Regions from separate parts of the Homo sapiens genome. Here regions 1 and 3 are each linked to region 2. The links are contacts of gene promoters, found by promoter capture Hi-C in human tissues and cell types (Jung and others, 2019). All regions are on one chromosome and are shown on one strand. Each heading gives the region's core, a stretch centred on a gene start or on the middle of the fragment in contact. The rest is flanking DNA. Distances are from core to core; before and after follow the strand shown.

The links. Contacts are between HindIII fragments. The study calls those that stand out against the background at their distance.
Region 1: a fragment that was not itself captured here is called in contact with the fragment with the promoter of CER1 in region 2 in 1 of the 25 tissues and cell types used here (dorsolateral prefrontal cortex).
Region 3: a contact is called between a fragment that was not itself captured here and the fragment with the promoter of CER1 in region 2, in 1 of the 25 tissues and cell types used here (dorsolateral prefrontal cortex).

What each region holds. Positions count from the first base shown.
Region 1 is chr9:13,154,867-13,158,138 of GRCh38, reverse strand. It overlaps MPDZ (multiple PDZ domain crumbs cell polarity complex component), which reads left to right. Exons shown (of 47, transcript NM_001378778.1): 24 at 29-121. Among named protein-coding and RNA genes, the nearest start is that of MPDZ, 120 kb to the left of the region's middle. The HindIII fragment of the contact is 5,916 bases long and covers 1-3,272 here.
Region 2 is chr9:14,721,013-14,724,032 of GRCh38, reverse strand. CER1 (cerberus 1, DAN family BMP antagonist) reads left to right here and starts at 1,300. Exons shown (of 2, transcript NM_005454.3): 1 at 1,300-1,867. The coding sequence starts at 1,361. RefSeq lists enhancers at 275-1,212, 1,213-2,152. The HindIII fragment of the contact is 6,126 bases long and covers 1-2,441 here.
Region 3 is chr9:13,183,209-13,186,644 of GRCh38, reverse strand. MPDZ (multiple PDZ domain crumbs cell polarity complex component) reads left to right here. Exons shown (of 47, transcript NM_001378778.1): 18 at 259-375; 19 at 3,060-3,227. Among named protein-coding and RNA genes, the nearest start is that of MPDZ, 95 kb to the left of the region's middle. The HindIII fragment of the contact is 3,288 bases long and covers 1-2,973 here.

The DNA.
Region 1 (3,272 bases), core at 572-3,071, 1.6 Mb after region 2:
GGTACTCATTGTGTAATTCTTTAACCAGAGACATTCCAGAATTACCAGAGCGAGAAGAGGGAGAGGGTGAAGAAAGCGAACTTCAAAACACAGCATATAGCAATTGGAATCAGCCCAGGCGGTAAGGACTATTTCTGTCTTCTGTCCACCCAATGGATATATAGTGTTTAAAGATAAGCAGGTGTGGTTTCAAGTACTGGATTACAACTTGCTTCTTGTTATATCGGGTGAGTTGTTTAATACTTCTAACCCATCATTTTTTAATGTATACAGTGGAGAGAATAATGTGTATCACACAGGGTTAAAACTAACATATATGGAGATATCTGGCACATAGTAGGGACTAAATTAAAGAAAATTATTCATAGGTAGTTGGAATGGATAATACGTTCTGTAGAGTTTTATCTTAGGTATACCAAAAAGTATTCATTTAAATTTTACCTAGCATTTGTAGAAACTAGATAGGCAAACATATATATTCAGAACGTGTGTGTGTGTGTGTGTGTTTGTGTGTAAAAGTACCCTCATAGCCTTGTTACCACAGGCTGAGTTTATCCTAAGTCATAATCTGTCTAGCACCAGTTTCATGTATAATAGATAAGATGACATCCTCAAATATACTTAGATGTATCACGTGCATCACTAAAACATACTGATGTGTTTATGCTGAGTAAAATCAACTTTAGTTTAATAGGAATTTACTGAGTCCTGATTATGGACCTAGACTTAAAGCCAATGATTTTGTGAATAACAAGGAAATAAATAGAAGATGCAAATCCTGCCTCAAGGAACCTCTAATGTACTTGGCTGGGCAAGATGTAGAGACACATGAAACAATTTAAGAACACAAGGTATTTCACCTTAAGAGTAAAACATAGGTAATCAGTGGACATCCACCCCAAACAGACCTAAAGGTCACCATCACAATGTGATGCTTTGTGTTCAGTAAACATTAATATTTGTTACATAGTGAATAAATAAAATGCTCAAGAGAAGAATTTGTAATATTCGTAAATGCCAGTGCAATTTAATGACGTCCCCTGCCCACCAGTGATAACCTGCAGCCATCACATTTAAATATTTTTAAAATATAAAAAACACTATTTTATGTTGCTTTCAAAGAAGCAGCATGTATTTCCAGCCATCTAACATGAATTTCTTATTTGAATTTCATCAAAAGTCACTTAACTCACTTAAAAAATCCCAAGCTCTCTATAGTGCTGCCTACATTGAGAACAGGGTATAAGTGCTAGATCTGTGGCAGAAAATATATTCTGAGGTGTTAAGTGTCTTATTTATTTGTGGATAGAGGTAGAAATAAGTTAAATGAAACTGTTTTGTAGCAGGTAGTCATAGTGATAAACTTGAATTTTTTAGGAGGACAGTAATCACAGGAAAAAAAGATAGGTTGGTCAGTTTTAGTAACAATATTATGAGAGGAAAAGTAGATTTTAGAAGGTGATATAGTTTGGCTCTGTGTCCCCACCCAAATCTCATCTTGTAGCTCCCATAATTCCCACATGTTGTGGAAGGGGCCCTGTGGGAGATTGAATATGGGGGCAGGTCTTTCCCATGCTGTTCTCCTGATAGTAAATGGGCCTCAGGAGACCTGATGGTTTTAAAAACGGGAGTTGCCCTGCACAAGCTCTTTTATTTGCCTGCTGCCATCCACATAAGATGTGACTTGCTCCTCCTTGCCTCTGTCATGATTGTGAGGCTTCCCCAGCCATGTGGAACTGTAAGTACAATAAACCTCCTTCTTTTGTAAATTGCCCAGTCTCAGGTATTTCTTTATCAGCAGCATGAAAAAGGATTAATACAGAAGGCAGTATGCAAAATGGTTGGTGTCAGTAAGAGCCATGTTAGGATTTTGGCTCTGATACTTTCTAAGACAAGTTTCTTAATCTCTGCTAGGTCTCTGCTACTTTATCTGTAAAATGAGGTTAATAATAGAATCTTTTGAATTTGGGGGAAAATTCAGTGTCATCTAAAATCCTTAGCAGAGTGCCTGGCACATAGTGAGTCAGTGGTTGGCTTTGTCTATATTGATAAAATATTTGTCACTGGTACCTAAGCAAAGAGAAAGCCTTTGACACAGAAATCATGAAATTTTCTTATGAGAAAGAAGAACATAACTTCTGGACTGGAAAATTTTTATGCTTTTAACCTTCATGCAATCCTAAGATAGCTCTAAAGGTGCTAACAACCTTACGTGAAGAATACCTCCAAAGATTCCATAAATCCTTCTAAGAAGGTACTCTGTACTCACTAGTGTAGTGGTTCTCCTAGATTCACTAAGCTACTTCTAGGGGAAGTTCATAGAACATGAGAAGAAAGCTTAATGGAGTAACCAGAGCTTTTAATAAATTAGGAGTTAGTGTTGTGAACATGGTTCATAGCATTGAAAACATGATGGGACAGTCATTCATGAAATCAACAAAAATGTACTTTGTATGAAAATAGAGAATTTTTAGCAAAATATAAATTTTAAGATTATAAAATGGGCTGTATTTTATTTTGCATGTGATTTTCATTTTACACAATTGATATACTACTACATGTATTATTTTCCATTTTGCTTAATTTTTCTCTCAATTCTTGACGTTTTGTAAATCTATCAAGCTTGATACTTAAAGATCTAATTCATTCAATTTAGTTGTTGTGTTGCATTTCAATATGTGAATATACCATAGTTTATTCATTGTCAGATTCATATTAGATAGTTAATAGTTATTTGCTATTATAATAATTCTGTTCAGTAAATATATTTATTTCTTTATACTTACACATGAAAATTTATCTAGGGAATATATCCAGAAGTGGAATTGGAATTGCTGGCCTGTAAGTTTATATGCATTTTTTACTTTCAGTTGTCAAATTGCTTTTTAAGGTTGCTATACCAATTATTATTATTATTTTTCTGAGACAGAGTCTCACTCTGTTGCCAGGCTGGAATGCAGTGGCACGATCCTGGCTCACTGCAACCTCTGCCTCCCAGGTTAGAGCGAATTCTCCTGCCTCAGCCTCCTAAGTAGGTGGGACTACAGGTGCGCACCACCATGCCCAGCTAATTTTTGTATTTTTAGTAAAGATGGGGTTTCACCGTGTTGGCCAGGATGGTCTCGATTTCTTGACCTCATGATCCACCTGCCTTGGCTTCCCAAAGTGCTGGGATTACAGGCATGAGCTACCACACCTGGCTGCTATACCAATTTTTATTTCTATTTCCAATATATGAATGTTCCCTTTTCCCCACATTCTTGTTACCACAT
Region 2 (3,020 bases), core at 51-2,550:
TCTTGGAAAGAAAGTTTAATCAGTATTGACAAAAAAGGGGGAACATGTTCCAGGACTATTTGTGTTATTGAAAGCAAGGAATATAGTGATTGAATTAAAAGGGGAGAAATAAAAGCAGATATTGCATTGCTTCCCAGTGGAAATACTGTTTGAATCATGTGGTAGGCTGATCGGACTCTATTCTGGGGTTTCAGTTTTCTGGACGTGTTTCTTTTTCGTATCCTAGGCTGATTCATGATAGTTTTGAATGATAGTTATTTTTCAATTTTTCCTTTGATCCCCGAAGACTCTTATTTGTGTCAATCTTTATTTAGCCTGGCCATCAATTAGTGTAAAACAAGGGGAGATGATGTGGATTCAATAAGGTAAGAAACTGACTAGCCAGCGTCACACACAAAGTTATCAAACCTGGTTCTTAGAATCCACGTTCTCATGTCTGGCTCTTTGTTCAAAGGGAAAAAAAAATCAATAGGATGGCTGGAGGGAGACATTTCCCTATCCTCATTGAAGACTGATGAGCTGTCAGTCTATTACGTGGTATCCTGTTGAGGAACATGTGAACAATTGGAAGAGTTTATCTGATGACTGACCAGTTGTGAAATTTAGCACCCATTAATTGATTCTTAATGTGAGAGGATTAACTTGGGAATTGTGAGTTTCTACGTGTGGAAAGGAAAACATATTCCCTTTACTCAGTTACTGTGCAAAAATCAATAACCCCAATTTGCATGTAAGTAAGAAACAATATGTCCCTTGCTCAAAAAAATTAACATCCTTCTAGCTCTTCCTTTCTTCTCCTTACAACTTTGATATACTTCTTCGTGTGTGTGTGTGTGTGTGTGTGTGTGTGTGTGTGTGTGTGTGTGTGAATAGCCTTCCTAAAGGCCTGGGCTTTTTCTAAATGTATGCCTTTAATTTTTATCCAAAAACTTCTCTTACAGCAACATGTCTTGTCTATTCTATTCCAGCACAAGGCAGATGCACAGCAAATGTGAGCTGACTCTAGTCCTTCTTCTGAAAACAGCCATGGGAAATTTAGGCAAAGAATGTGTTGTCTTTGCTAATACTGCTCTTTAAGCCCCAGACATAGCTAAACTCTTAGCTAATTACCCCCTGGGTCCCAGGCTTTCACTGGGGCCTTTTAAAATACACAAAACCAAAGTGACGGCAGGAGGCCATTAGCACTACATAATTCAAGCAAACAATAAATGTGTTTATTCTGCCTGGCTACTGACCACCTGCCTTCCCATCCCGCCAGGCAGGTATCTATATATACGATTTCCTTTTTCCCAGTCCTGCAGAGAATGAGCCTCTCCTTTGGGCCTCATCATTTACAAAAGAAGCTTGGGCCCCTGACAGCATGCATCTCCTCTTATTTCAGCTGCTGGTACTCCTGCCTCTAGGAAAGACCACACGGCACCAGGATGGCCGCCAGAATCAGAGTTCTCTTTCCCCCGTACTCCTGCCAAGGAATCAAAGAGAGCTTCCCACAGGCAACCATGAGGAAGCTGAGGAGAAGCCAGATCTGTTTGTCGCAGTGCCACACCTTGTAGCCACCAGCCCTGCAGGGGAAGGCCAGAGGCAGAGAGAGAAGATGCTGTCCAGATTTGGCAGGTTCTGGAAGAAGCCTGAGAGAGAAATGCATCCATCCAGGGACTCAGATAGTGAGCCCTTCCCACCTGGGACCCAGTCCCTCATCCAGCCGATAGATGGAATGAAAATGGAGAAATCTCCTCTTCGGGAAGAAGCCAAGAAATTCTGGCACCACTTCATGTTCAGAAAAACTCCGGCTTCTCAGGGGGTCATCTTGCCCATCAAAAGCCATGAAGTACATTGGGAGACCTGCAGGACAGTGCCCTTCAGCCAGGTATGTGTTCTGGGGGGAGAGCAGGTAAGAGTTTGCAGGTGGTAGTGGACAGCTGGGATGGATGGAGAGTAGGGGAAAAGGCTGTCAGGAGCCTGACTCTAGCTTAACTACAGATTTGGTCCTTGGGCATTCATCATAGGATTTGGCAAAGATTAAGTTTCCTTCTGGCCTTTCCATTTTTTCTTGGCATTGTGGAAATGCTGCAAGAATGATATGATGATACTGTCAATATCAGTAATCATTCATTCACACTGAAGACACAGAGCTCTGTTTTATTTATTTATTTTTGCATTGGAGGTGATCTACTCAGAGATATAAGTCAGACTGTACCCTCAGTTAGGAAACTGAGAATTTAGAGTAATCACCAGAACTCCTCTGTAGCTATCTTTCTGCACTCTATTAATATGTGGATGAGCAGGTCAACTCCATTTGTTGATAAAGTGGGGTGCATTGGACTCCTTCCCAAATACTCTCATATCCATTTACGATGGTCTTAATCCCCATAGTCCATACTTAATTACTTTATAGGTTTATGAGGGACTTCTTTAATAGCTTGCTAAAGCTATCCCACAACCTCAAAGTACGTTGAGGTTCTCAGGCAAAAGTTGTCATATCATTTCTAGTATTATGATAGCAAAAAAGTGATTTTCTTTCACTTATTTTCTCATATGAGCTTTTTAAAAAATCAATCTTGATGTGAGATCATATCTCCTCCCCTTAGAAGTACCTTTCTCCTGATTCATGTTGTGTTGGCTGATTTGTAGTTATTATGATCAATTCCATGCTATTAAGACAAAGGGACATCCTACTGTCTACTTCCTCTGGCAATATCTACATTCCAAATGTTAAATTAAAATTGAGAACTTGCATTAGGTCCTTAAACATGAAGATATTGAACCAAAAACATGCAGGGTAGAGTAAAATTTTATAGTCGAGTAATGCTACCCAATTAAGCAAGCAATAGAATAGGGCAATTGACTGTTCAAGGCAGTTAAGTATTCTGCCTGAAAAGGCAAGGATATGTAGCAATGGCAAGTCAATTATCAAATAATAATGACTACTCTGTTGGCCATGTGCAATTAGAAAATTACCCCTAAGAATCAGGCAATCAAATTTCTTTTGAAATTCTTCTTTTGAATTCTATTGCTAATTA
Region 3 (3,436 bases), core at 80-2,579, 1.5 Mb after region 2:
AGTAGAAAGGGATTCTCATCCAACAGGTGATTTTTATATTAGAGTAAATAATCCTCATTGTGTCTTATCAAATGAATGTCAAATATGAATATCAGATTGCATACTTACCATTCTATGTTGAAGTCATATCGTTTGAAAACTTTCCAATTTCTTTCTCTTCTCGCCCCCCTCACTTTTCCTACCTTTACTCTTCTTTTCCATTTTCTTTCTTCTTTGCTGTTCTCTCTCTTTTCCATGAATACCATTTTTTCCCTGCAGCTTTCACCAGAAGAAGGTTATGTTTCTGCTAAGGAGGATTCCTTTCTCTACCCACCACACTCCTGTGAGGAAGCAGGGCTGGCTGACAAACCCCTCTTCAGGGCTGACTTGGCTCTGGTTAGTGGCTATGACTTATCAAGCTTTCTTTCAGAAACCTGATATGTCTTACTTTGCCTTTCAAAATATTCTGAAGAAGTCTATTATATTCTTTGTTCATTATTATATTTGGAAAGATAAACATGTTTTCTCCAACTTAGTTCTCACAATTGAAAATGGGAAGAAAAACCATAATAAATATGAAAAACATTTGTGAGGAAAACTTAATTAACGTTGCATTGTAGCAGTATGTAGAATTAATCTTTGTGCCATATCTAAAGTTTGTGGAGCATTTGTTTGCTCCAATTTCACGCTTAGATATCTCTAGGCATTCTTTAACTGTGCTCAATATTCAGTCATAAATCACTGTTTTGGCTGTATTTAATGAGGTAATAGGTATCTTTTTTCCATTAGATATTAATAGTGTGAGAATCATATAAATTGGTTCAGTTATTAAGAACACCAGTTTTATGGAAAGGTAAACCCCATGTTTTCTATAAATACATATATGTAAGTATACTGATTTACCAGAAAAATTATAAATTAAAATTTTATTTCTGTTTGATGTTTAAAATAGTATCCATTGGAATAAAAGTATTTGCAGGCACTCTGCCCTTAAGAAACTTTTTCTTGTAGAGGGTACAATGCTATATCAATAACTAAAGGATAAAACTAAATACCAGGCATGAATATACATGTGACATTTACTCAACATAAATACAACAAATTGTACATCCTGTTCACATTACCCCTACTATTAGAGCTAGGTTCCTTACTCAACGTTTTTTGTGGGGCAAACATTGTGCACTGTTGCTAAAAAGGAATATACTTGCTTTTTAAATACTTGTTTGAGTTTCATTAGACTGGAGAAAGGTTTAAAACCTGTTAAATTCTTCATTATGTGTTTATAACTGCGCACATCTTGCTTTAAAACAGAGTGAATTATTTCTTTGACTATATATACATTTTGCTGATTGTAATTTCGGGGGAGACAATTCCTTTTGCTAATATTTTTAAATTGCAAGCTCTTGAAATAGCCATTTGAAAAGTTTTGGTATATGTTATAATAAATGCAATAATTTCACACTGTAATACTTAACATACCAGGTAACTTATGGCCCTGCTCTCCATGGGTATTATGTTAGCACTTCAAAACTAGATAGCTTAGTATATACAACGAATTACATACAGTACTGTGGTGTAAATAGTACCCAGCCATAGCAAATACTTTTTGAAATGTCACAGGATACAAATACTATATATGATTATTTCTAAAGTACCCGACGAAATAGCATTCTCTCTAGCCTTTACATGGCTTCCTTGAACCTCCTTAATGGATACCAATCAAAAGGAAGATTAGTTCCACTTTTATGTGAGCTTGGCATCTTATAATAGTAATATGCGTCCTGGGTCTTCTCCTTAGCCAGCTAAGTAATCTTGGACTGGTCACTCAATTTCTTTGAGTCTTAGTGTTTTATCTCTACAGTAAATAAATGAATTGATTGTTAATATCTCTCCTAAGATCCTAAGATATCAGCAATATACATACAAATTATATTGAGGTATTCTTTCATTAATGTTACTTAAATATGTATTGTAATCTATGACACAAGGCTTAGTTAATAGTGTCTATCTAGATTGTTGTATGTTATGTATATTTGTAAGGGTAAACCTCCACATAGTGACTCACTAGTGAATTTGAACATGTATTTAAAATATATTATTAGGCCTATGAAGTATATTTGAAGAGAAAATCACTTCAAAATGGCCCACAGGTATTTTTAATAGTTTTTTGTAAGAATGTGACCTGATATAATGTTATAATTCTTCTAACTTCTCCTGGGTAAGCAGTAAGTTGAAATTACAAAAAAAAAATTAGAACATATGGAATTTTGCCAAGATAGACAGAAAATGCTGGTAGTATCAGAGAAAGGTAGTATATATGTCAGTTCTGCCTATTCTCAGGTATGACTTTGAGTGAATTGCAAAAAGAACTTCAAGCTCATCATAATTTAAATATTAATCTTGATTCTGTGACAGAAGACAGCAATAGGATTATTAGAGAATATGTAGTGAAATTCTCTATCTCACTCTTTATGAGTTTTCTTACAAGTTTATAACTTAAAGCTTCACCATAACCAGATCATAATTAGGCCCCTTGTTTGTTAGTATAATTTTAGCATGAAATCACAGATTTTCTTTTTGGTTTCTGCAACTTGAATGGTTTTAAAATCTAGTTCAAGATAATTTAAACAAAATATATAGTTTTAGTGTGGCTTACAAATATATAATTGCCTAGCTGCCTCATTGAATAACAGTTTATTTTAGTTGACTAGGAAAAATTATGACACAATTTTATTATAAAATTGTAAGAGTTGGGCATGGGAACTGTAAGAAAGTAAATATTTTTCTTAACTATGGAACTGTTTAAACATAGACTTCATCCAGGCCCTTTGTTAATTGTTGCCTTTAGCCCTTTTATTGATGAAATAAAATAACCTTGTATGCCAGCACTTTCTGCTGTAGGTGGGCTATTTATCCTTGTTCTGCTGCATTAGCAGTGTCTGATGAGGGTTAAGAGGGCATATAGAAAATACAATAGATAAAAGAATGATACCAGTTTGCCTTTTAGTCTCAAGTGGAGATTGTTTGTCATATATGTAATAGAACAGAATTCCCAACTGATATTATTGTTTTGTTTCTAGGTGGGCACAAATGATGCTGACTTAGTAGATGAATCCACATTTGAGTCTCCATACTCTCCTGAAAATGACAGCATCTACTCTACTCAAGCCTCTATTTTATCTCTTCATGGCAGTTCTTGTGGTGATGGCCTGAACTATGGTTCTTCCCTTCCATCATCTCCTCCTAAGGTACAAAGGAAAAGCCAATTTTTCTTTTATAGGAAAGTCTTGTGTGTAATTTTCCAGAGCTCAGTCCTTATGGGGAGTTGTGGGAATAACATATTGGAGACATTATGTTTCTCCAGTTGTGGATTCATTATTGGATTAAAGTACAATTTCATTTAGCTAATGTTGGTTGGATAGCTTTCAGATTACTAGAAACTATTTAAATTTAGTGT